7 separate regions of the Homo sapiens genome follow, and all the other regions are linked to region 7. Evidence: promoter capture Hi-C in 16 types of primary human blood cells and fetal thymus (Javierre and others, 2016). All regions are on one chromosome and are shown on one strand. Each heading gives the region's core, a stretch centred on a gene start or on the middle of the fragment in contact. The rest is flanking DNA. Distances are from core to core; before and after follow the strand shown.

Region 1 (3,538 bases), core at 708-3,207, 580 kb after region 7:
AGAGGTTGCAGTGAGCTGACATTGTGCCACTGTACTCCAGCCTGGGTGACAGAGCGAGATTCTGTCTCAAAAATAAAATAGGGAAGGGCAGGGAAAGGCTCACCATAAAATTTAAATCAAGATTTGGAAGAGGTGAAGGAACTGTCATGCAGTTATGGGAAGAGCATTCCAGAGGGAACAGCAAGTGCTAAGACCGTGAGGCAGTGGGAAGTTAGGGCAGTAGGGCAGCTGTAGAAAGAGTGATGGCTGGGGTGACAGATGCTGCTGTGTGCTCTAGATGAGCCAGTAGCCCACTCTGAGCCTCACCTTCTTCATATGAAAACATGGGCTTGAGCAAGGAGATTTCCAAGTTTCTATTCAGCTCTGACATTTGGTGATGGTAGGGCAAAGCCCTTCTCTTAGGGAAAGCGGGAAGCTGTTTGCCAATGGGAATGTGCTTATGGAATTAGTCTTTTATTATTTCTCTTAGAATAGAATCTGAAAAAGTTGGCTTTGGCTTTGGACTCCTCTAATAAGGGAGAGAAGGGCCAGGCTAGAGTTTGGCAGCTGAAACGCACACACACGTGCTCTCTGAGGGCTGAATTTCCGATGTACCTGGGGCACAGATGGGTCAGAAATGAATGGAATCAGCAGAGGCGATTGCTATCATTTTTTATTACTGTTCAGTGTTTGATTTCTGCTGTAGCCCTGGCAGATGACAACAGATTGTTGGGTATGAACAAGAGAAGATTATTTTCTATCTGATCATTCTTTGTGTGTATTTGGGGTGACCGAAGGTTTTTAATATTGAAAAGTCAAACAGCCTGGACCATTTCACCCACCATCAGCTTAGCCTATTATTTACAGTCCCATTCCTTTAACTTTCCAGTTCTTGGAAAAAAAAAATCAACTATCGACTGTTTGGACAGATAATGTGGGAAGATGAAAGTGGGAGATAAATACACATCTTCCATTACTCTTAGATCTCTTCTGGAGTCTTCGGTTGACACACAGTCTCCTATTTGTGCCTTATGTGGGTGTCCCATGAGAAAGGTCCATGGATATGGCAAGTATTCTTTAACCATGTCATGCCAAGGATTTGGGCATAGCAAGGGACTAAGTGCCTGGAAGAAATATTTCAGCATCTGGGGAGTTCTTTAAAATACACAGATAATTACTTCGAGATTTCTATAATTTAACTGCAAGTGTTAAAAATATATTTCCGAGGATTGATTGGGTGCTAAGCCAGTGTTTACATCTGGGAGGTAGGTCAGGGACAGGGGGCGGTGACAAGGAAGAAAGGGACATTAAGACTGTGACTGGTCTGGGATTTTACCCCACTTGCCAGCCGACAAGTTAACCTGCCACAGTTTAATGGATGCTGGTGGACTCCTGGGTCAGAGACAAATAACTTTACTATATTCCACATTAGCAGTAACCAGAATATCAACATTTGTATCAGGGCAATGTGGAGAAGGCCAGGTAATGCCTGTGTGTGCAGTGAGTTGTGTTACAGAGGTACCCTGAGTTCAGGGAATCCAAATCTTTTCTAACAGGGAATAAGCATGGCTGGGCTTAACTCCAGAGGCAGATGCCATCTTTATGACGTGGGCAATAAACAACCTTGCTCTTTGCTCTGGAGGGAGGCACAATTTCTGTCTTCCAAGGCTGCTCTCTATACAAACATCCTGGGAAAGATAGTCTCCAGCAAAGGCAGTCAGACACATGGAGAATTGTCTTCCAAGAGGGACTTAGAAATATTTTGGCCATAAAGATGAAATTAACTCCCTCCCCGCCAGCTCCCTTAGGTGAGTTTACCCCTTGGGTCACAGTAGCTTTTTCTCTTTAACTTCCAAGGAAATCCAAGGAGACACATTTCTATCTGAACTCAAGGCACAAGTCAAACCCTTCCTGGGGTCAAAGGCTGAGAAGAATTGTGAAAGCTCTGTCCACTTCATGACCTGTATATCCCTTTTACTTTGCTGCTCATTGCAAGGTAGTTGAACATTCCGACTATTAGAAATGCTAATTTTACATCATCTTTAACCTCGAAGGGACTGCAGGTTGTTGCCTGGGTCAGTCCTTGACTGAGACAGACTTTACATTTTGGGCAACTAAGGTTTGGAAGAATTAAGTGTCGTCTTCAAAGTCATTCAATAAAGACCTAGTGGAACGATGATTCCAAGTGAGGTCCACGGAAATGGAAAATTTCCTGTCATTTTCCTCAAAACCAGAGTTTTGACTAGGGAATCTTTTTAGACAGGATCGACCAAGAAAGGTTGAGGGGAAACTAAGATGAAAGATGGGTGATGGTCCTCAGAATACCTTTCCTTAGCAGTTGTCCAGAAAGCAGTGTGTGAAAGAGATTGCCAGTTGCCTACCCAGTATCCATGCTCTCTTGTTTTTTTAGGATAAGATCCCTGTATATTTGAGTATGGCAATTCTTCCAACTTTTATTTAGTTTTTAATTTTAAAATTTCTAATTTTAAAGATTTTAATTTGTTTTTAATTGAAAAATAAAAATTGCATATATTTATCATGTAGAATGGGTTTTGAAATACGTGTCCATCATGGAATGGCTAAATCAAGCTAATTAACATATGTATTGTCTCACATACTTATCTTTTTGTGGTGAGAACATTTAAAATCTCTTTGAATTTTTCAAGATGCCCTGCTTAAAAAAACAAACATATTTGTTAGCTTTCCTTGAGGTTGGGGTGGTCAATGAGGTGTGAGTGGAAGTCACTTCCAGCAAAATTCCTTCAAGGGGATTCACCTGGCTGGCAGGAGACCCATTCCTTTCCCCGTCTCCCTTCTCCCTGCCTGGAACATGGCTAGGATAACAAGTCCCAGTGACAGTCCTGGGATGGTGAGGAGACCTCATGGATGGAATCTGAGTGGAAGATGGTGGAGCAGAAAGTGAGAAGAAGCCTGGGTCATCGCTAACACCATAGGGCACCACGCCAGCCCTGGACAATGCACTTTTGGATTTCTTCTGTGTGAGCGAAAAATGATGCCTCCTTTTTTTTTTTGCCACTGTATTTTTGGGTAGCAGGTGAATGTTAATTTTTAACAGATAGTGGGTGCTTACTGATACCTAACTGTGATCCCTGAATGTTCATTGTATCCAGTCGAGTTTCTTAGTTGCAAGTAACAGAAAGTTTGGCAACCTTTAGCAAAAAAAGGACTAATGAACTTTTTAAGAAGGTTTACAGGGTCAAATAATGGAAGTGATGGCTGAGGAACTTGGAGCAGGTGGGCACCAGATTGTTCCAGAACATCTTATAGTGGGCTCTGCTCATTGTTCTCTCCAGGGCTCCACAGGAATCAATGGATCCTAATTTCTTGTCTGTCCTTGTGTCACTGTCAAGATTCAACATCTCAGGGAAGCGAGTATTCTATTGGCTGAGCCAAGGTCACAGGACTGCCCTGTATCAAGCTGGCGAGAGGAAGGACAGAGCAGAAGGAGCCTCGTGGAGCCCCTCCAGCTTCCACTCTGGGAGGGCAGGCACGTGGTTTTATTGTCCCACGAAGACTGCACACAGTGAGGGCCAAGGTG
Region 2 (3,253 bases), core at 245-2,744, 600 kb after region 7:
ATATAATTAGCATGAGATGTTGTGCCTCCTGTGGCTGGACCCCCACTGTGGCTGACCCTTTGTAAGAGCAGAGCCATGTCCTTCTTGCTTTGTCTGCTCTTCTCTCTGTACCGGATAACTGCTGTTCCCAGTCACTGGGGGAGGAAGATGGGGAGGGAGGAAGGGAAGGAGGGACAGCAAATCTCCTTGCTGAACTGCCATCTGTGTCGCACTCCCAGGCCTGGCAGATATTTTGAGCTGACTCTCACTCCCACGGATGTGAAGATCGGGGGCTGCAGTTCTAGCCATTGTAGCTGCATCAACTTCGAGAAGTTATTTTATTGATTGATTGATTGATTGATTGAGACAGAGTCTCGCTGTGTCACCAGGCTGGAGTGCAGTAGCTTGATCTCGGCTCACTGCAACCTCTGCCTCCCTGGTTCAAGCGATTCTCCTGCCTCAGCCTCCCAAGTAGCTGGGACTACCGGCGTGTGCCACCACACCCAGCTAATTTTTGTGTTTTTAGTAGAGACGGGGTTTCACCATGTTGGCTAGGCTGGTCTTGAACTCCTGACCTGGAGTTTGCTGGAAATCCTTCTACCTGGGAAACCCACTGACACTACCTTGATACAGGCTGTGCAATTCCTTCCCGCCATGCTGCCCGCATCCCTGTTATCTGACATTCCTCCACACAGCATCTCACACTCTCCACATGCTCCTGGGCAGCCTTTGGGCAGGATTTAAAATGGCTCCAGGCTAGCTTTCCCTCAGGGTCTGCATCCTGTCCCAGTAAACCCTAGAGGTTCAGACCAAGCCCAGCTGTGTGCTCTTTCCAGCTGCCACATGCCAAATGCAGCGGCTGCCTGCTCAGTTTTCTGTCCAGAGCACAGTGTTCCCTCACTACAGGGATGCTCTTCATGGTCTTTGAATGGATCAACAGAAGCACCTTCTCCAGAAAGCAAGTCCTGCTTCCTCTGCATGGAAGGGTTAGGGTGGGACTCCCAGCATCATGATAGTTCTCTTCAAAGCAATTGCTTCACACATTTCCCCTTCCTCCACTCTCAAAATTTTATATTTCCAAAGCAAATAAAGGCCACTGAGTAAGGAGCTCAAGAGTTACAAAACTGGTTCTCAACCATTTCCTGAAAATTCTGTATTGGAAGCTGTTCCATACTCACTTTGCTATCAGATATCTGTGATATTGGCATTTCGGTTGGAGCAAACAGAATTTCAGTGTAGCATCTTCTTCCAGAGGAATGCAAGGCGGTAGAGATGAAGAACCCCTGCTAAAGATGGAATGCTTGTGTCCCCCCAAACACATGTGTTGAAACCTAATCCTCAAGGGGAAGGTGTTAAGTGGCGAGGCTTTTGGGAGGTGTTTAGGTCATAAGTGCAGAGCCCTCATGAATGAAATGACTGCTTTTATAAAAGAGACCCAAAAGTGTTCCCTTGTCCACCACATGGGGACACAACGAGAAGACAGTCATCCAGAAACCAGGACATGGTCTTTCACCAGACACTGAATCTGTTGGTGCCTTGATCTTAGACTTCTCAGCCTCTAGAACAGTAAGAAATAAATGTTACTCAGAAGGCACCCATTCTTCTTTTTTTTTTTTTTTGAGACGGACTCTTGCTCTTTTGCCCAGACTGGAGTGCAGTGGCGCAATCTCGGGTCACTGCAAGCTCTGCCTCCTGGGTTCATGCCATTTTCCTGCCTCAGCCTCCTGAGTAGCTGGGAGTACAGGCACCCGCCACCATGCCTGGCTAATTTTTTATATTTTTAGCAGAGACGGGGTTTCACCATGCTAGCCAGGATGGTCTCGATCTCCTGAGCTTGTGAACCACTCGCCTTGGCCTCTCAAAGTGCTGGGATTACAGGCATGAGCCACCGTGCCTGGCACACCCATTCTTTTGGTATTCTATTATAGCAGCCTGAACGAAATAAGATACCCCCCCCCCCCCCAAGGCCTCTCTAAAGCTCAGACCAAGAAGGTTCCCACTCTCCCTGGAATTGAAAAAATAAAAAGCCAGCAATTGTCCTGGTGGTAATAAGTATGTGTAATGATTTACGTAATCCAAATGGCCATGAGAACTGAAAACCAGCTCATGCAAGAGGTTAGGCAAATCCTTGCTAAGGAGGATAGTGCTGCAAACTGTCGTTGTCTATTTAAACGTCACGGGAAGTGCCTTATGGAAGAGGCAACTGGAATTACTGTGTTCTTTCAGGGAATAGAGTGTGATGGCTTCTTATACTTATGGTTGTCCAAATGCAAATGCAGCAGCTGTCTGCATAGCCTCGTGTTGGAGGGTGTGCTGAAAGCCCAGGAGTGGATTTCTGCATCATAAAGGAAGGTGTGATTTGGCCAGAAGATTAGTGGCCCTGCCTTATGGCAGTTCAGCAGCTCCTGCAAAGTTTCTACTGTTCAGTTTGGGGAACTTCCTCCACCTTGGACAGAATGCTGCCTGCAGGACTCTGGCTGGCTTTCTGCCAGAAACCTGGAGCAAGGGGCTGCCTTTGGGGTAGAGGGCTGAAGTGGTCTCTCTGCATGTGAGCTCATATCCTGTTCATTCCCAGGAATCCTGACATGTTCTTCCTCTATCCACACAGCCTAACCATTTTCCAAGTCTTCTGCTCAATTCCCCCTCCTCCATTAAGCCCTCCTTGATCACTGCCTGGAAGCCCTCTCACCTTGAGGTCGCACAGCAGCATTGTTATTTACTTCCTTTCATTGTTGCTGTGGACCTTGAGTAAGGGCATCTCTGCTGTTACCTTATGTGCCTTCTGGGAGGAGCTGAAGGTGCCCATGTGATAGGTAAGAGCCCTGGGGGGCTCTGATTAGAAATCAGTTGGAAGGTGGGACCCTCTGCTGTGGGATTCAGTTTGTTAGATATTTGAGCCCTACCCAGCTTGAAGTTTACAGATTCTTTTTTCTTTCTTTCTTTCTTTTTTTAACCTACAACAGGTGTTAACTGGGCATGAACTGTGTGCTGGGCTCAGGGATAGGCCCTGAGACACATTAGGAAGAGTGGTAGTACTTGTTCCTCCAAGAACCCAGTGTTGAGGGAATCTTGCCACATGTATGTGTAATGAAGTAGAGAATTTCATCCATTCCATTCTAGGGGGCACTTTCTGGCAAGATGAGAATTCAGAGGCTCACATTGAGCTGTCCTTCCCTAAGAGGTGAGGCCAGGAGGTTCTCTCATCAGAAGCAAGGGTGCTGGAGCAGAGAGGCTAGTGTGCATGGGAGTGAATAGTATAGCGGAGAGGGAGGAC
Region 3 (3,422 bases), core at 923-3,422, 680 kb before region 7:
CCAAAATGAGGAACATTCTATTTTAAAAAGATTTTGAAAAAAGAAAAATTTGCAGAAGTTTGGGGGCATATTAAAGACACAGGAGCCAACTGAAAGAGTTCCCAACTGGCCAAGACTGGAACAATTTGAACACCAAAATAAAATAATATTGGATTGTAACTCAGAGTACAAAATAAATATCCTTGAGTTCATACTGGTATAAATAATTGATTGGATATATAAATTAATGGGATAGAAGGGACAAATCCCCTGTGCAGAATTCTAAATGTATATAGATACTCCACCCTCAAGGAGGTGAAGCTAATTCCCACTCTGTAAGTGTGTGCTGCACATAGTGTGTTCCTCCCAGAGAGTACAGTGCACAGAGAGGGGAAAGGAGTGATGTTACAGTGCAGCAGCCCGACTGACACTGTCTCAGCCAGGTGGTGAAGGTTAACATCCACAGGCTAAGCCATACTGGCGGTATGTACTCCTGACATGATGTGATGACAGTGGCACTTTACCTCTCTGGTCTTCCTCCCAGAAATACATAACCCAGCTTAATCATGAGGAAAACATCAGATAAACCATAATTGAGGGAGTTTTTATGAAATACTTGACCAGAACTCAAAACTGTCAAGGTCAGTAAAAACAATGAAAACCTGAGAAATGTCACAGCCAAGGGAGCCTAGAAACATGACAGCTAAACATAATGTGGTATCTTGAAGGGGATCCTGGAACAGGAAAATGACATTAGATAAAAACTAAGGAAACCGCGTACATACATACATGCTGACAGCATTATTCATGACAGCCAAAAAATGGAACAAACCCAAATGTCTGTCAGTGATGAACAGATAAGACAAATATGGTCTGTCCATGCAATGGAGTATTATTCAGCCATAAAAAGGAATGAAGCACTGATATGTGTTACAACATGGGTGAATCTTGAAAATATTATGCTCAGTGAAAGCAGCCAGAAAACAATGGGCTGCATGTTGCGTCGTTCCATTTATATGAAAGGACCAGAATAGGCAAGTCCATAGAGACAGTAAGTTAGATTAGTAGTTGGCAGCAGTGGAGATTAGGAATGGGGGAAATCAGGAGTGGCTGCTTTGGGGTACTGGGTTTCTTTTGGGGGAGATGAAAGAAAATATTCTGGAATTAGATAATGGTGATGGTAACATAACCTTGCAAATATGCTAAAAACCACTGAAGTTATCCATTTTAAAGTGGTGAATTTTATGGTATGTGAGTTATAACTCAATTTTTAGAAACTAAGGAAATCTGAATACAGTATGGAATTTTAGTTAGCCAAAAAGTAGGGAGGAAGAGGAAACTATACTCAAAATGCCAATGTTATAAAAGACAGAGTGAAAAGCTGTTGCAGATTAGTTGAGATTAAAGAGCTATGATAACTAAAGGCAATGGATGATCCTTACCAAGACTTGTAGTGGTTGAGGGAAAGGGTCATAAAAGACACATTTTGCGGCCGGGCGCGGTGGCTCATGCCTGTAATCTCAGCACTTTGGGAGGTTGAGGTAGGTGGATAATTTGAGGTCAGGAGTTCGAGACCAGCCTGGCCAACATAGTGAAACTCCGTCTTTACTAAAAATACAAAAATTGGCCGGGCAGTAGTGGCCATGTGCCTGTAGTCTTAGCTACTCAGGAGGCTGAGGCAGGAGAATCGCTTGAGCCTGGGAGGCGGAGGTTGTGGGGAGCCAAGATCGCACCACTGCACTCCAGTCTGGGCCAACAGAGAAAGACCCTGTCTCAAAAAAAAAAAAAAAAAAAAAAAAAAGACACATATGGGATCAGTTGACAAAACTGCAATAAAGATAGTAGGTTAGATTACAATTATTTTTATCAGTGTTAAATTTATTGTATATAATCAGAATCATTTGCATTTTGATTATATAATAAAATATTTTTAATTTTAGGAAATACAGATATTTTGGGATAAGGGACATGAGTGTGCGACTTATTCTGAAATTATTCGAAACAAGTTTATGTCTATAGTATGTACACACATGAAAGCAGAGAAAGATGCAAGGGATCCAGAACAGAGGAGGGAGACAGGTCATACGTGAATCCAGGTAAAGGGGAATCACATATTTCACGTTATTCCTGCAAATTTGTTTTTCTGTGAATCAGGGGAAAACAAAATTCAGAAAGGTGGGTATTAGCAAGGATGTACAACAGAGGGAACTCATTACTCTAGATAAGAATGTAAATCTGTTGAAACACTTTGTAGGATAATTATGTTGTACATTTCCTAGTTCAATTGTTAGGTATATATCCTAAAGTAATTGCTGTACATGTCCCATTTGCACCAGGAAATATGTGCAATAATGTAATAGGAGCATCATTTGTAATAGCCAAAAACTGAGGAGCTATCCACTACTATTAGTGTAGGAACATTTTAATACAGCAGTGAAAATGAGTAAACTATAGCATATTGGAATGGTATACGAATATCAAAATACTGAATGAAAAAAAGCAAGTCACTGAGGGCTATAAACAGAAACACTCCATTAATATAAAGGTTAAAACTAGACAAAAGTAAACAATATATTATTTAAGGCTACATATGTGAAAAAAACCATAAAGAAAAGCAAAAGAATGATTTGTAGTTAATTCTGGGGATGGAGGGTACACAGGAGGACTTGGAAAAGCCTGGTAACATTCTGTTTCCTAAGCTGGTGTTTTCTTTAAACTATTTCTAATACTCTAGTATGTATATTTCTTAATTTAAAAAAAGTTTCAAATCAGACAAAACTCTCTAAGCCAAAAAAAAGTCCACCACAAGTCATTAAATAAAGCAAATAATAAAACAGTATGTAAGTTATTAATTTTTGTTAAGAAATTACATATGCATCTACATTTTTGTGTTTAAATGGACATACAAGTAGTTTGAGAGGATAAACACGAAAATGTGGTTTTGGGGAAGTAGGATTTCAGGAAAATTTCTGCATCACCTGTATTTTTTTTAAAATTTTGAAATCCATGAGCATTTATCAGTCAGACTCACATTATGAGATTATACTTCTTAAAATTTTTATTGATGTAAAAGAATTGTACATATTTATAGGGTTATACTTCTTTTATCTTTACTGTTGAATAAGGAGCCTAAAGGTAGGGTCCATGTTTTGTACATACTTCTCTGTATTCTTATAATAAGAATTGGAAAAAAAATAAACCAAAACAACTAAAACCAAAAAATGTGTGGGAAGTCACTAACAATGTTTAGAAATATTAAGTGAGAAAAGCAGGTTAAAAGGCAGTATTTTACATATTTAATATTAGTGCCCTTAGTACGTGTATTCTGCGTCTTAAAATGAAAATGCTCCACTGTCAATGGTTGTTTTCTCTTGGTATTGTAATCAGTCGGTAGTTTTTATTTTCTTTGTATTTTCCTTATTTGTGTGTATTACATAAGAAAG
Region 4 (3,656 bases), core at 553-3,052, 710 kb before region 7:
TTAGTAGATATGGGGTTTCACCATGTTGGCCAGGCTGGTCTCGAACTCCTGACCTCAGGTGATCCACCCTCCCCAGCTTCCCAAAGTGCTGGAATTACAGGTTTGAGCCACCGTGCCCAGCCCAAGACAAGTATTGTCTTTCTTAGAGATGTAAGTTTCTTAACCCATGTAACTGGCTTAAAGTCATATGGTCACCAAGTGATAAAGTTTGCATACAAACACTAGTCAAACTCCAAGTCCGATGTGCTTTTCATTCCACGAGTTGCTTCTCCCTTTTTAATTCAGCTAAAACTTTTGTACAGTTATATTTTAGTAATAATTTTTAATTTACTAATTATAAAAATGTGCTTGTAATTTTGAAGCTTTTACAAACTCACTTGTAACAATGCTAGTCATTGTGATCTTTCTTATTATAAGCATTCTTTAGTTGGAAAAATGGAATTGACTTGAGAAAATTTACTGAATCAAGTAATTGATTCATATTTGATGACTAATTTTAATCATTTACTTAGGATGTAGATAAATATCAGATGTGATTTTAGCAAATATGGGAAGTTTTGTTAACTCAGTAGGCTTTAATTTCAGGAAATCCTAGTATAGTGTGAATAATTAAATATCACAATTTGTATTATTTCAAAGAGAAAAAAATCCTTTTGATGCCTTTTAGAAATGCTTATTACTTCCTCAGGAGAGATAGAACTAAGGGAATGATTTACCCTCTAAGTTCTCTTCCAGTCTAGTATGCCATTCGTAATGGAAAGGAGGTTCTTTTCTGATCTTTATATATTTCCATTTACTATCAACCAAAATATAATGTTATTAATGACGACAAATATACTAATTTCCTATTCAGAAATTACTGATAGCAAAACTGATTAATGTAGTTGGTGATTTTTAAATACTTGGATACTCTTTTTGGGTTATACTAATTACATTCTTTAAAAATGCAAAAAAATGTACAGAAATAATATTCTCTTGAGTAATATTTAAGGAATATTTCAGAAGGGCAAAATTTAGAATACCTGGCCTGAATGAAATACTGGATAAATAGGAAATAAGTGTGCCCTTTTACTGTAACATTCTCTGGGGAAGTCAAATATTGTTAGACTACATATGCTGTAAGTTGGTCTAACTTGCTAACTTGCTACATGTGTTCTCTTGCAGACACTTTTAAAGCTATGATATTCCAAAGGGCTTAACTAGATTAGACTCTTCTTTATTTTTTCCCAAATGATGGAAAAATATTTCTTTTGTTTAGACATAGATGCCCTTGTAGGAGGAGAAGTTGGAGGCTTGGAGTTTGGCAAGTTACCATTTGGTGCCTGCGAAGATCCTATTAGGTGAGAATTTCAACCTGTCATTTGAATTGTGGGAATATTTTACTTTGAATTTATATTGATATTGATTTCACTGTGCTTTATGATGCTATAGCTTGCTGGGATGAATGTAGTACTGGAAATAAAGAAAGACGTACACCTGGGCTGGGCACAGGCTCATGCCTGTAATCCTAGCGCTCTGGGAGGCTGCGGTGGGCAGCCCCTGAGGTCAGGAGTTCGAGAACAGCCTGACCAACGTGGCGAAACCCCATCTCTACTAAAGAATGTCAAAATTAACTGGGTGTGGTTGCGCACACCTGTAATCCCAGCTACTCAAGAGGTTAAGGCACAAGAATCACTTGAACCCGGCAGGCAGAGGTTGCAGTGAGCTAAGATCACGCCATTGCACTCCAACCTGGGCAACAGAGCAAGACTCCGTCTCAAAAAAAGAAAGAAAGACCTACACTTGCTTTATTTATTTTATAATTTTACATGAAAACTTTCTGAGATTTGATATTCATCTATAACTCAGCAAACTGTGTCCTTTGCCAAATCTGGCCATTAGCCTATTTTTGTATGGCCAGTGAAGTCAGGATGGTGTTTACATTTTTAAAGGTTATGAAAGAAAAAAAATAAAATAGAGACTGTGCATGGTTCACAAAACCTAAAATATTTACTCTCTGGCTCTTTATAGAAAATGTTTGCCAACTCCTGATTTATAACATTTTTCAAACTTGAGATATAATTTACCTGCCATAAAATTCACTATTTAAAAGTGTACAATTCAATGGTATTTTAATATTTACAGAGCTGTGCAACCATCATAATCATCTAATTCCAGAACATTTTCATAACCTTAAAAAGAAATTCTTCACCTCTTAGCCATCATTTCCCCTTAGTCTTCTCAGCCCTCCGGCTCTAGGCAAACACTGATATACTTTCTGTCTCTTTGGATTTACCTATTCTGGACATTTCTTATAAATGGAATCATATAACATGTGGCTTTCTTTGTGTCTGACTTATTTTAATTAGCATGTTTTCAAGGTTTGTCCATGTTGTAGCATGAATCAGTACAGTAGTACCCCCTTATCCACAGCTGGTATGTTGCAAGATCCCCAGTGGATGACTGAAAACATGGATAGTACCACACACTAAATATTTTTCCTGTGCATACAGATAAGTAGTAAAATTTAATTTATAAATTTGGCACAGTAAGATTTCCAGGTGATGTAATACAAAATAAATAAATAAATGTAAATGAGGCATAGTAAGAGATTGACAATAATAACTAATAATAACATAGAACAGCTATAACAATATACCTTAATGAAAGTTATGTGAATGTGATCTGTCTCTCTCAATATATCTCATTGTACTATGCACACTCTTCTTGTGATCACTCTGATCACCAAGACAGTTACTAAGTGACTAACAGGGCAGGTAGCATAGACAGTGTAGGTACACTAGACAAAGGGATGATTCACCTAATGGGGTGGGATGGCACAAGATTTCATCATGCTACTCAGAACAACATGCAACTTTAAATTTATGGATTTTTTTTCTGGAATTTTTCACTTAATATTTTCAGACTGCAGTTGATTTAGGGTAACTGAAGCTGCAGAAAGTGAAGCTGTGGATAAGGAGGAACTAATGTACTTCTGTGCTTTTTATGGCTGTAAATATACCATTGTATGGATATGCCACATTTTGTTTATCCATTCATTAGTTGGTGGGTTATTTATGCTTTTTGGCTATTATGTATAATGAGATGAATGTTTGCAAAACATTAACTTCATAAGGATGTGCTACCATTTGCTAAATAAGTTGTTTCCAGTATGTTGTATTATAAATAATGCCACTGTAACATACTTTTATTTCCTTGGTATAGTTTTCTAGAAGTATTAAATATAATTGCTGAGTCAGTATTAAAGCTTTTGGGTATATTTTATGTTTTTTAGTGAACTCCATTTAGCTACTACATGGCCTCATCTGACCGAAGGGATCATTGTGGATAATGATGTTTATTCGTAAGTATGTTAAGAGTAGTAGTACACTGAGATTAAAAAACTTCAGTAGAATAACTCTCAAATTGCTAGTAATTTTTATATGCATTTTTTATTATTTTGTTTTGATTTTAGTGTTCCCTTTTGTGTTTTATTGTCTAAGGACTTTGATTTCTTATGATGTTATTTTTTAAAAACTTATCCAAATGGCTCCATGTATCTGGATAAGAGTAAGTTTAAGGGAGGCTAAATGGATTGCTTGTCCTTCTATGTTTTCATTAGACTGCATTTTAATAAGTTCATGAATCTTGCAGATTGTCATAATTAGGATTTTATA
Region 5 (3,240 bases), core at 17-2,516, 620 kb after region 7:
CCAGTCTCCCCTCACCATGGCTGCTCCACTCTGCATAGACACCCTCCTCTCTTCCTGCTGGGTTCTGACACTGTGCTGCATCTGCCACTGCTCTGGCCTGCACAGATGTCTCACATCCCACTTGTGCATCTTCTGATGCTCTGGCCCTCTGCCTGGCTGTTCTCTTCACTCCACTTGGGCTCTGACACCCCACACTGGACCTCTTTCCTACATAGATATCATTCTTACCCTGCTCAGACTCTGACGGTACGGGCTGGGCTGCCCCTCACATATACACAAGACCTACCTCTTCATGCAGCTAGGGCTCTGATTCTCTGCACCGCCACCCTCCTGGCCCCACTGAGTCTCCAGAATCACAGGCTGGGCTGGGCCGCCACCCCTTCTCCTTCACCTTCCCCTTCCTCACTGCACCTGGGCTCTACAAAGCATCCAGCTATTCTCTGCTCTTTCCCCTCCTCACACCCTCACACACTCATGGGAATGCTCTCTGCACCCTGGGAAGGCTACAACACTTCACTCTGGGGCTTTGCAAATTTCTCCCCCATCTGGGGCATTTGGAGTGAATTCTTCAGGTCAGAATGGGAAGGGGGAAAAGGGGAAGAGAGAGGAAAATACAGGAAGGCTTCAATATACTTTTAAAATGGACTTCGTTATCCACAGTACCAGAAGAATTTAATCTTAGCATTTGTTTAGGAAGGGTACAAAGTCACTCCCACTTTAACTCAAAGCTTATGAATCTTATACTCTCCTAAAATAATAATTTCATATCTATAGTGAGATAGATATATAGATAGAGATACATGTCAGGTTCCTAGAGACATTAAGTGTTTTTCTATGCTTACAGCTAATATGGTAGGGTAGAAGCATTTTTCTTTCTTTTTTCTTTTCTTTTTTTTTTTTTTGAGATAGGGTCTGCCTCTATTGCCCAGACTGGGCGGTAGTGGCGTGACTGCAACTGACTGCCGCCTTGACCTCCCAGGCTTAAGCGATCCTCCAACCTCAGCCTTCCAAGTAGGTGGGACTACATGCACAAGACACCATGCTGGACTGCTTTGTAAAATTTTTTTATAAAGACAAGGTCTCACTATGTTGCCCAGTCTGCTCTTAAACTCCTGAGCTCAAGTGATCCTCCTACCTCAGCCTCCCAAAGTATTAGGATTACAGGTATGAGCCACCACACCTGGTATGAGAATTCTTGAATTTAAAATCTGCACAGTGTTGCAATTCTTGTTTTTTTGTTGTTCGTGTCACAGTTGGATTATATCTGTGTGTCTCTCTTCCTCACTAGACTCATTAATGTCTCTGATGCAGGTCCTGAGGGTTTTTCCCATTCCCAGCACTCTGATCTGTGGGCTTGCACTTCAGAAACAGCAGCTAAGGAAGCTGCTTGTAAAAGTGTTAGATGAAAGAGTCAGATACAAAGTTTGAAAGCAGGCTTGCAAAATGAATTTTCCTGTTTCCATAAGCTACATCAGTCTGAATTGGGGAAGGAGAGGCACCTTTGAAGGAGGGAGTAGGGAGGAAAGAGTTGGAAACCCTCTGGGTTGGGCTGGTGGCTGGGAATGATGACAGGGACTTTCTGGGGAGAGTATCAGAGAATCATGTGTAGGTCACTCAGCTGTCCTGCTTATTGCTGTCACCAACAGCCAGTGGTCAGCCTGTTAGCCATGAGTGTCTGGGTTGAAGTGACACTTGTCAGGGCTATGGAGAGCCCATTCAGCCTTTTTCCCTGTCCCAATCATAACTTGGAGATAGAGACTGGGGAAAAGATAACCCCTGGTGGGCTGAGATGATGGTCTGAAGAGAAAGCTTGCCCTTAATAAAGATGGGGCTAAGCGGGGACTGGATAGAACCAGTGGGCAATTGCGTCTTGGGCCAGTAGAGTGGTAAATGTGCAGTTCCTGTTATATTATTGTTATTATAGTAGATGTATATGCAAATTAAAATATTAGCACAGCACTCTCCCTGTGTTAGTCTGTTTTTTTGTGTCACTATAAAGAAATATCAAGCCAGGTGCAGTGGCTCACAACTGTAATCCCAGCATTTTGGGAGGCTGAGGTAGGAGGATCACTTGAGGTTAAGAGTTCAAGAGCATCCTGGGGAACATAGCAAGGCCCTGTCTCTACAAAAAAATAAAAAACTAGCTGGGTGCAGTAGTGCATGCCTGTAGTCTCAGCTACTTGGGAGGCTGAGGTGGAAAGATCAATTGAGCCCAGGTCTTCTAAGGCTGCAGTGAGCTATGACCATGCCACTGCACTCTAGCCCAGGCAACAGAGTGAGATCCTGTCTCAAAAACAAAACCAAAGAAACACCTGAGACTGGGTAATTCATTTAAAAAAAGAGGTTTAATTGGTTCACAGTTCTGCAGGCTGGGCAAGCATGCTCCTGGCATCTGCTTGGCTTCTAGGGAGGCCTCAGAAACTTTTACTCATGGCTGGAGGTAAAGCAGAAGCAGATTCATCACATGATGAGAGTGAGAGCAAGAGAGAGAGAGGGGAAGGGCCACATACTTTTAAACAACCAGCTCTCCCATGAACTAAGAGAGTGAGAACTCACTGATCACCAAGGGGATGATGCTAAGCCATTCGTGAGAGGTCCACCCCCATGATCCAATTATCTCACACCAGGCCCCACCTACAACACTGGGATTCACATTTCAACATAAGATTTGGAGGGGACATATATTCAAACCACATCATTTTGTCCCTGACCCCACAAATCTCATTGCAAAGTATAATCATCCCTTCTCAATAGTCCCCTGAAGTCCTAACTCATTCCAGCATCAAGCCAAAGTCCAAAAGTTCCAACTGAGACTCACCTCCTTCCACCTATGAGCCTGTAAAATCAAAATAAGTTATTTACTCCCAAGATACAATGGTGGCATAGGCACTGAGTAAACAATTCCATTCCAAAAGGGAGAACCTGGTCAAAAGAAAGGGGTATAGGCCCCATGCAAATCTGGAATCCAGTGAGGTGGTCATTCAATCTTAAAGCTCCAAAATATTCCTTGAATTTGTGTCCTGCATCCAGGGCACACTGGTCCAAGGGGTGGGATCCCAAGGCCTTGGACAGCTCCACCTCTGTAGCTTTGCAGGTGCAGCCCATGTAGCAGTTCTCATGGGTTGAAGTTGAGTGTCTGTGCCTTTTCCAGGCTCAGGATGCAAACTGCCAGTGGCTCTACCATTCTGGGGTCTGAAGGGCAGTGGCTCCTTTCCCACAGCTCCACTAGGCAGTGTTCCA
Region 6 (3,351 bases), core at 551-3,050, 560 kb after region 7:
CCAGTGATCAATCCCTATTGTAGATAACTTCAGTACAGGGGTTGATTACTAGAGGGACAAAGCCATGATTACGGGGTGGAACTTTCAGCCCCACCCTGACCTCCAGAGGAGGGCTGGAGATTGAGCTCAATCACCAAAGGTCAGTGATTTCATTAATCATCCTACATAATGAAACCTTCATAAAAACCCATAAATGACGGGGTTTAAGGAACTGTGGGGTTGGTGAATGCACTGAAGTGCTGGGAGGGTGGTGTACCCAGAGAGGGCAGGGAAGCTCTGTGCCGCTACTCTCCATACCCTCCCTGTGAATCTTGGGTTATGTAATAAATGAGTAATAGCAAGGAGATTTCCTGAGTTCTTGGAGTTGTTCTAGTGAATTATTGAACCTAAGGTGGATGTTGTGGGATCTCCTAAATTTATAGTTGTTCCATCAGAAGTGCAACTGGCAACCTTGGACTTGTGAGTGGCATTCGAAGTGGGGCAGTCTTGTGGGACTGAGCCCTTAACCTGTGGGGTCTATGCTAATTCTGATAGTGTTATAATTGAATTGGATTGTTGGATACCCAGTTGGTGTCAGAGAAACAGAATTGATGTTGGAAAATATACCAAGTATTTAGTGTCGGGGGAGGGGGAAGCCCCTAACGTGGATTCCTAGACAGGTGGTACCAGAAACAGGGTTAATGGAAGTGTTGCTCAAAAAGCACATGCCTACAGTATTCCTTGGCCCTGGCTGGATTTCGGATTTGCTTCTCCGGACAGATGGATTAATCTTGTGGGGACACTCTCATAGGATACCACCTTTCTTCCAGCCTTGAATGCTATGGCTCATCTGGGAAGTGGTTCAAAGTTTGATATAGAGAGCAAAAGTTCTATAGTGGGTTGGGGGAGTTTAATGGGTGAAACTTTTCTTGAGGTCAGTGTGATATTACACATCACCTTAAAAATGCTCCTACTCTTTGGCCTTGCATTCTTAAATTTTGAGAATTAATCCTAGGGTAGTGATCTAATAGGTGAGTCAGGCTTCAGGCAAAATGTTATTATTATACCATTATTTATATTAGAAAAAAATTGACCTTGAAAAGCATCTGTTATAGGATTGGTCAAATAAATTTCAGCATATCAGCATATCCTTAGGATGGAATAATATGTAACCACCAAAAATTATACAGAATTTAAGTCCATTGGCAAGTGATACAAAATATAATTTGATATTGATATTATCATATTAACAGTATACTCAATATATAATATCATTTAAATTGTATCAACCATGCTTTATTGAAAGGACTAGAAATTCACACTCCAATACAATAATATTGTTATCTTGGGTGGTAGGATAATTGGTGTCTGAATTCTTTTTCTTATATTTTATTCCGTATTTCCAGATTTTTCTGTGAGGATGCTGTCATTGTGTCTAATCTACAGGGTAAGACCTAGAAGGGCAAGAAATAGAGTTCTCCTTTTATAATCAGGAGAAAAGTTAATAAAAAAAATTCCTCAGCAGTGAATTCTGCATCAATTGAGTTAGACTCTTATCTCTAGAGCTGTGCGAAGAGGCAAGGGAATGAGAGTTTATGGGCTGCATTGATTTTGCACTTTTTTTTTTTTTGCTTATAACCTGTAACCCATTCAGGGTTACACTTGAGTTGAATTCTCTTAGGATGTGGTGTGAGTAGGAGATATAAATACAAATCAAAGGCTGGGACAATTGGGAGAAGGCTTGTCAGAAGCACACTTAGGAAGGGGGCCATAGGATGGATAATTCCCCTGGGTAGACTCAGTGGGAGTGAAGGGCCAGGCTTGTCTTTCAGATCTGGAGAGTGTTGTCAACTGATGCTAGTTGTACAATTGAACTTAAATCACTGCTGAGGACAAGGGGAGCTGAGAGCTTTTTCTGAGGCCATGACATGCAGCCTCCAGCATCTTTGGAAGACCAGGCTCCTTAAATACGAGTCCTAGCAAAAGAATGAACTTGGGGAAACACATCTCCTTTCCCTGCCCTCTCTCAAGGAATGCTTAGGGCTCCTTTCTGAGATCCCATCAGCTCCCTCTGCCCTGCCACTGTTCTGGCTTCATATGGCTCTGACAGCTTTAGTGGCATCCCCAGATCCTGTGTCCAGTACCTCCTCAAACCTCCCTGACCAGGGTCCTTCTCTTTCAGTAGCTCCCATCTCTGCCGATCTAGAAAAGTAGGCACATACACCGTATTCCCTTCCCAAGTAATGCTTGAATTTGCATTCAAGTTTTGGCCCAAAGTACAATGATAGGCAAGAGGGACCGCATGGTCCCCTAGAGCCCTTTTCCAGCTTCTGCACTGTTGTCCCTAGCTGTGCATGTGTTTTGTAGCCTCTTGGAAGAAGGGTGCATGTACTCGCTAGAGAAGCCAACCTCCTCCTGGGATTCCTGGCCCTTCTCCCAGACAATCCATCTTTCATCACTTCTGGAGAACTATTTATCTATCTTTTTTTCTTTGACTTTTTAGAGTGGGTAATACTTTTGAATAGGTGCTACTTCAAAGATGACAAAGCATGGAGAGCAAACGACTCTGGCGCATTCCTGTTCCTCTCTGCTAGGTTCACTCCTCCCCATTGGAGAGGACGAAGGCAGAGCCAGCTCTTCCAGATGGCCACCCGATGGTCCCAACCTCATTTATTGAACAGTCCATTTTTCTCTGCTGATTTGAGAGGATGTCATAATGTTCCATATGTATTTGGATCTACTTCTGGGATTTGTATTCTCTTCCACTGTCTGTCTATTTACACGCGGACATCACTGAGAACTCAGGGCAGGCAGCAGCTATTTAAGCCTAGAGAGAGGTGCACAGCTTTTCTCTTTCTCACCTTGTTCTAGACTTTAGTTTCCTTCTCCTTTTAGACTCAGTGCTGGTGCCACACTAATATTCTTACAGTGACATATGGGGTAGATACTATGATTCCCATTTTATGGATAAAGAAAATGAGGAACAGAGAGGTTTATGCGACTTGCTTAAGGCCATACAGCTGCTAGGTAGAAGAGCAGGGGCTACAAGCCCAGGCAATACATCCCCAAGACAGACATCTAATTACCATGCCTCTACCCTTTTTCACAATGGTCTTTATGAATATAATTAATATTAATAGCTACTGTTGATTGACAGCTATCTGCTAGGCGTCGTGTTGAGTGCTTTGCATATAGTGTCTTATTTAACTTACTTTCCATAATAACCCTACAAGGTAGATATGATCATCAGATTTATTATGGATGGGAAACAGGCTCAGGGGTTACCCAAATTGCTAAAGGTCACTTGATATGTGGCTTCTGGGCTCATGCTCTTTACAATGATGCTTTACAGACTCTCCATTTTCATGATTA
Region 7 (3,581 bases), core at 250-2,749:
AGATCAGAACTTCAAGTCCCCTAGGAGGCAGGAATGTGAACAGTTACAGTTGTGCTCTCCTCATCCTGTGATATATAATTGTTTCATCTTGTATTTGTCTGTCTCCCAAGCTGCAATGTAAGCTCCAACTAAGACATGTAAGTATAGGGGAGCCGAGGGGGAAGGACAGGAAACCACGAAACTTTGCCTCCAAGTCAGGGTAGCAGGACATAGACGGAAAGGAAGACAGAAAGACAATCAGTGCTTGCACAACTCAAGACTGGGCAAGGGGTATTTCAAAAATACATGTGTGTATATATATATATATATATATATATATATATATATATATGTATACATATTTTTTTTTTTTGAGATTGTGTCTTGCTCTGTCGCACAGGCTGTAGTACAGTGGCATGATTTCGGCTCACTGCAACATCTGCCTCCTGGGTTCAAGCAATTCTCCTGCCTAAGCCTCCCGAGTAGCTGGGATCACAGGCGCCTGCTACCATCCCTGGCTAATTTTGGTATTTTTAGTAGAGACGGGGTTTTGCCATATTGGCCAGGCTGGTCTCGAACTCCTGACTTCAAGTGATCCGCCCACCTCGGCCTCCCAAAGTGCTAGGATTACAGGCGTGAGCCTCAAAGATATTTTTCAAAGGAAATGCTGAGTGTTTTGCCATGTTAGCTACCCCTTCCTATCGCCAGTGGGAAATCAATTTACAATATTAATTTCTCCCTATGCACAGACATAAGAGGACTGCTGAAGGTGAGTTGGGAGAAATGTCGAATCTGCTCTAAGGAGGATGGGGAAGGTGTGTGATGAAGGTTGCCGAGGGGTCACCATCAGGTCAATGTGTACTCACCCTGAAAAGCATAGCTTTCGTGGTAAATCTCATAGGCTTTTCTGTGGGCATCACTGAGGGTCTGGAGTTGTGACGCTCTTGATTCCTGGTGGGGAAGCTCCTTGATCACTTCCTCCAAGTCACTGAAGGTGAACCAGATCCCAACTAGGTCCCCGAAGGAGTGGAAGGCGAATGTGGCATAGTCGGCGAAGAGGTCAGCAAAGGCTTCGGTTCTCCGGAGGGTGCTGGCAGGGAGGGTCTGGTGGTGCAGGATGACCATGGGCTGAAGCCGTGCAGTCTTGAGGGCCTTGAGGAGTCGCCGGTAGCACTGCACTGTTTTCTCGTCTGGATTCTGGGTGCTTCCTGCTGGGAGGAGCTGTGCCCATGACAGAAATACCTTATAATGGGTGATCTGACTGGCATGGAGACTGCTGAAGTATTCTGGCAGGAAAGTGGGCAGTGGCTGGTGACAAACATACATGTCTTTGTCCCCTGCTACAAAGTTAGAACTCTGGTCTCCCAGGAGACCACTCAGGTTGTGCAGCAAGTCATTGGTTAGAGGACCAGCGGTGGAAATGAAATTTCTATCAGACTCCCAGTCTGACCCCCAGCATGAAAAACTTAGCAGGGCAATAAAGACTACATGCCAAGACAGCTCCATTTTCTAGGAACTGTTAGGAGGTATGTGGAACCCTTACTTTATAACTGCAACTGAGGTTGTAAAATACTAAGTGATAATTAAGACTTAATATTTAACTGGGTTATCTATGATCACAAAATCAGTACACGGTTCACTAATGCAATATTTAAAAATGTAAAGATCAGGGCCGGGCGTGGTGGCTCACACCTGTAATTCCAGCACTTTGGGAGGCCGAGGTGGGCGGATCACGAGGTCAGGAGATCGAGACCGTCCTAGCTAACATGGTGAAACCCCATCTCTACTAAAAATACAAAAAATTAGCCAGGCATCGTGGCATGCGCCTGTAGTCCCGGCTACTCAGGAGGCTGAGGCAGGAGAATCACTTGAACCCAGGAGGCGGAGGTTGCAGGAGCCAAGATCATGCCACTGCACTCCAGCCTGGGCAACAGAATGAGACTCCATCTTAAAAAAAAAAAAAAAAAAAAAAGGTAAAGACCAACACAAAAACCTCAGACTTCCTATACAAGTTAAGCAGAGGAACCCGGAAAATGTCTGAAGAAAACGATTACCAATTTTTTTTGTTTTTTTTGTTTTTTGGTGACCGGGTCTCACTCTGTTGCCCAGGTGGGAGTGCAGTGGTGCGATCACAGCTTCCTGCAGCCTTGACTTCCTGGGCTCAAGTGATCCTCCCATCTCAGCATCCTGGGTAGGTGGGACCATAGGTGTGCGCCACCACGACTGGCTAATTTTTTGTATTTTTAGTAGAGATGGAGTTTTGCCATGTCACCCAGGCTGGTCTTGAACTCCTGGGCTCAAGCAATCCTCTTGCCTCAGCCTCCTAAAGTGTTGGGATTACAGGTGTGAGCCAGCGCACCCAGCCACACATTATTTTAAAATTTGTTTACATAATACAAAAATAAGTATTTTGCCCCAAATTTTCTCTTTAAAAATATGCTGAACATATTTTGTAAGAGATTCAAACAATATGGAAACATCTATGAAAAACTTGCAAATTCCTTCACCCTCCCCCCTCCTCTTCCTATAATAAGTATCTTCAGCAATATGTATCTTTCCAGTTTTCTTTCTCTGCATATCTTAATGGTTATACAGGAGTCAGAATGCCTGGGTTTAAATCTCACCTGACAAAAATTACTTAACTTTGTGCCTCTATTTTGTCACCTGTAGAATGTGGATAATTCATCATAGGCTGTGGGGATTAAATGGGTCTTTCTTGTAGCATGTATACAACAGTACAGCTCAGGGATCATTATTATTACGTAAATACAAATGGAAACGTGTATAACATTTAAAATATAGAACAATTTAACATATATGGAATTATGCCATATGTATTTTCAGCCTTTTCTTCACTTAATAGCTCTTAGAGTTCTGCCTGTATCAGAACATATAGACCCACCTCTAACAGATGCATAGCTTTCCACAGCAAGAATGTACCATAAATTAACATCTTGCATATTAAACACCGGTTGGTTTTACATTTTTGTGTTGCAAACAATGCTGCAAATGAATATCCTTATATACAGGCTGGGCATGGTCAATCACGCCTGTTTTGCCAGTACTTTTGGAGGCTCAGACTGTAGGACTGCTCAAGCCCAGGAGCTTGAGGCCAGTCTGGGCAACACAGGGAGATCATCTCAAAAAAAAAAATGGTTTTTGATTGATTGAAATGCAAATTGTCTTCCAAGTTAAATCCTACATAGAGTTAGATGTGTGCCTGTATCCGTCTGCCTTGCTAATGCCTATTATAAAACTTTTACATTTTTGATACTTTGACGTAAATATTATGTGCTTTTCTTTTTCTGATTATTTAAGAGGTGAAGCTCTTCTTGTTAATTGGGCATTTTTCTTCTGAGTTTTATCTTATTACTGATATAAAAATTCTTAATGGGAGTTTGGATATCACATATTAAAACGTGATAGAAAAATTTTCCCATCTTTTAATTTGGTTTATAGTGTCTGTTTTTTTTTAATAGACTCCCATGACTTTCCATAGACTGTAGAGGGTGAAGCCTGGGAATCTTTTTTTGTTGTTGTTGTTGCCGCCCAAGCTGGAGGGCAGTGGCATGATCTCAGCTCACTGCAACTTCCACCTCTTG

What was found. The method cuts DNA at HindIII sites, captures the fragments that hold promoters and counts their contacts. A CHiCAGO score of 5 or more calls a contact.
Region 1: a fragment that was not itself captured here is called in contact with the fragment with the promoter of LCT in region 7 in 6 of 17 cell types (neutrophils, monocytes, total B cells and 3 more); the score reaches 10.8 in neutrophils.
Region 2: a contact is called between a fragment that was not itself captured here and the fragment with the promoter of LCT in region 7, in 1 of 17 cell types (neutrophils). The highest score is 6.2, in neutrophils.
Region 3: a contact is called between a fragment that was not itself captured here and the fragment with the promoter of LCT in region 7, in 1 of 17 cell types (erythroblasts). The highest score is 6.1, in erythroblasts.
Region 4: a fragment that was not itself captured here is called in contact with the fragment with the promoter of LCT in region 7 in 1 of 17 cell types (M2 macrophages); the score reaches 5.0 in M2 macrophages.
Region 5: a contact is called between a fragment that was not itself captured here and the fragment with the promoter of LCT in region 7, in 1 of 17 cell types (neutrophils). The highest score is 7.0, in neutrophils.
Region 6: a contact is called between a fragment that was not itself captured here and the fragment with the promoter of LCT in region 7, in 13 of 17 cell types (total CD4 T cells, activated CD4 T cells, naive CD8 T cells and 10 more). The highest score is 12.0, in total CD4 T cells.

Annotation. Positions count from the first base shown.
Region 1 is chr2:136,417,054-136,420,591 of GRCh38, forward strand. No RefSeq gene overlaps it. Among named protein-coding and RNA genes, the nearest start is that of CXCR4, 300 kb to the left of the region's middle. The HindIII fragment of the contact is 7,220 bases long and covers 1-3,538 here.
Region 2 is chr2:136,436,994-136,440,246 of GRCh38, forward strand. No RefSeq gene overlaps it. Among named protein-coding and RNA genes, the nearest start is that of CXCR4, 320 kb to the left of the region's middle. The HindIII fragment of the contact is 3,596 bases long and covers 1-3,253 here.
Region 3 is chr2:135,158,921-135,162,342 of GRCh38, forward strand. All of the region lies in intron 19 of RAB3GAP1 (RAB3 GTPase activating protein catalytic subunit 1), which reads left to right. Among named protein-coding and RNA genes, the nearest start is that of SNORA40B, 24 kb to the left of the region's middle. The HindIII fragment of the contact is 6,425 bases long and covers 1-3,422 here.
Region 4 is chr2:135,122,907-135,126,562 of GRCh38, forward strand. It overlaps RAB3GAP1 (RAB3 GTPase activating protein catalytic subunit 1), which reads left to right. Exons shown (of 24, transcript NM_012233.3): 9 at 1,259-1,340; 10 at 3,275-3,343. Among named protein-coding and RNA genes, the nearest start is that of SNORA40B, 12 kb to the right of the region's middle. The HindIII fragment of the contact is 2,885 bases long and covers 361-3,245 here.
Region 5 is chr2:136,455,928-136,459,167 of GRCh38, forward strand. No RefSeq gene overlaps it. Among named protein-coding and RNA genes, the nearest start is that of THSD7B, 310 kb to the right of the region's middle. The HindIII fragment of the contact is 1,081 bases long and covers 727-1,807 here.
Region 6 is chr2:136,399,863-136,403,213 of GRCh38, forward strand. No RefSeq gene overlaps it. Among named protein-coding and RNA genes, the nearest start is that of CXCR4, 280 kb to the left of the region's middle. The HindIII fragment of the contact is 4,517 bases long and covers 1-3,351 here.
Region 7 is chr2:135,835,685-135,839,265 of GRCh38, forward strand. It overlaps LCT (lactase), which reads right to left and starts at 1,500. Exons shown (of 17, transcript NM_002299.4): 1 at 846-1,500. The coding sequence starts at 1,485. The HindIII fragment of the contact is 13,164 bases long and covers 1-3,581 here.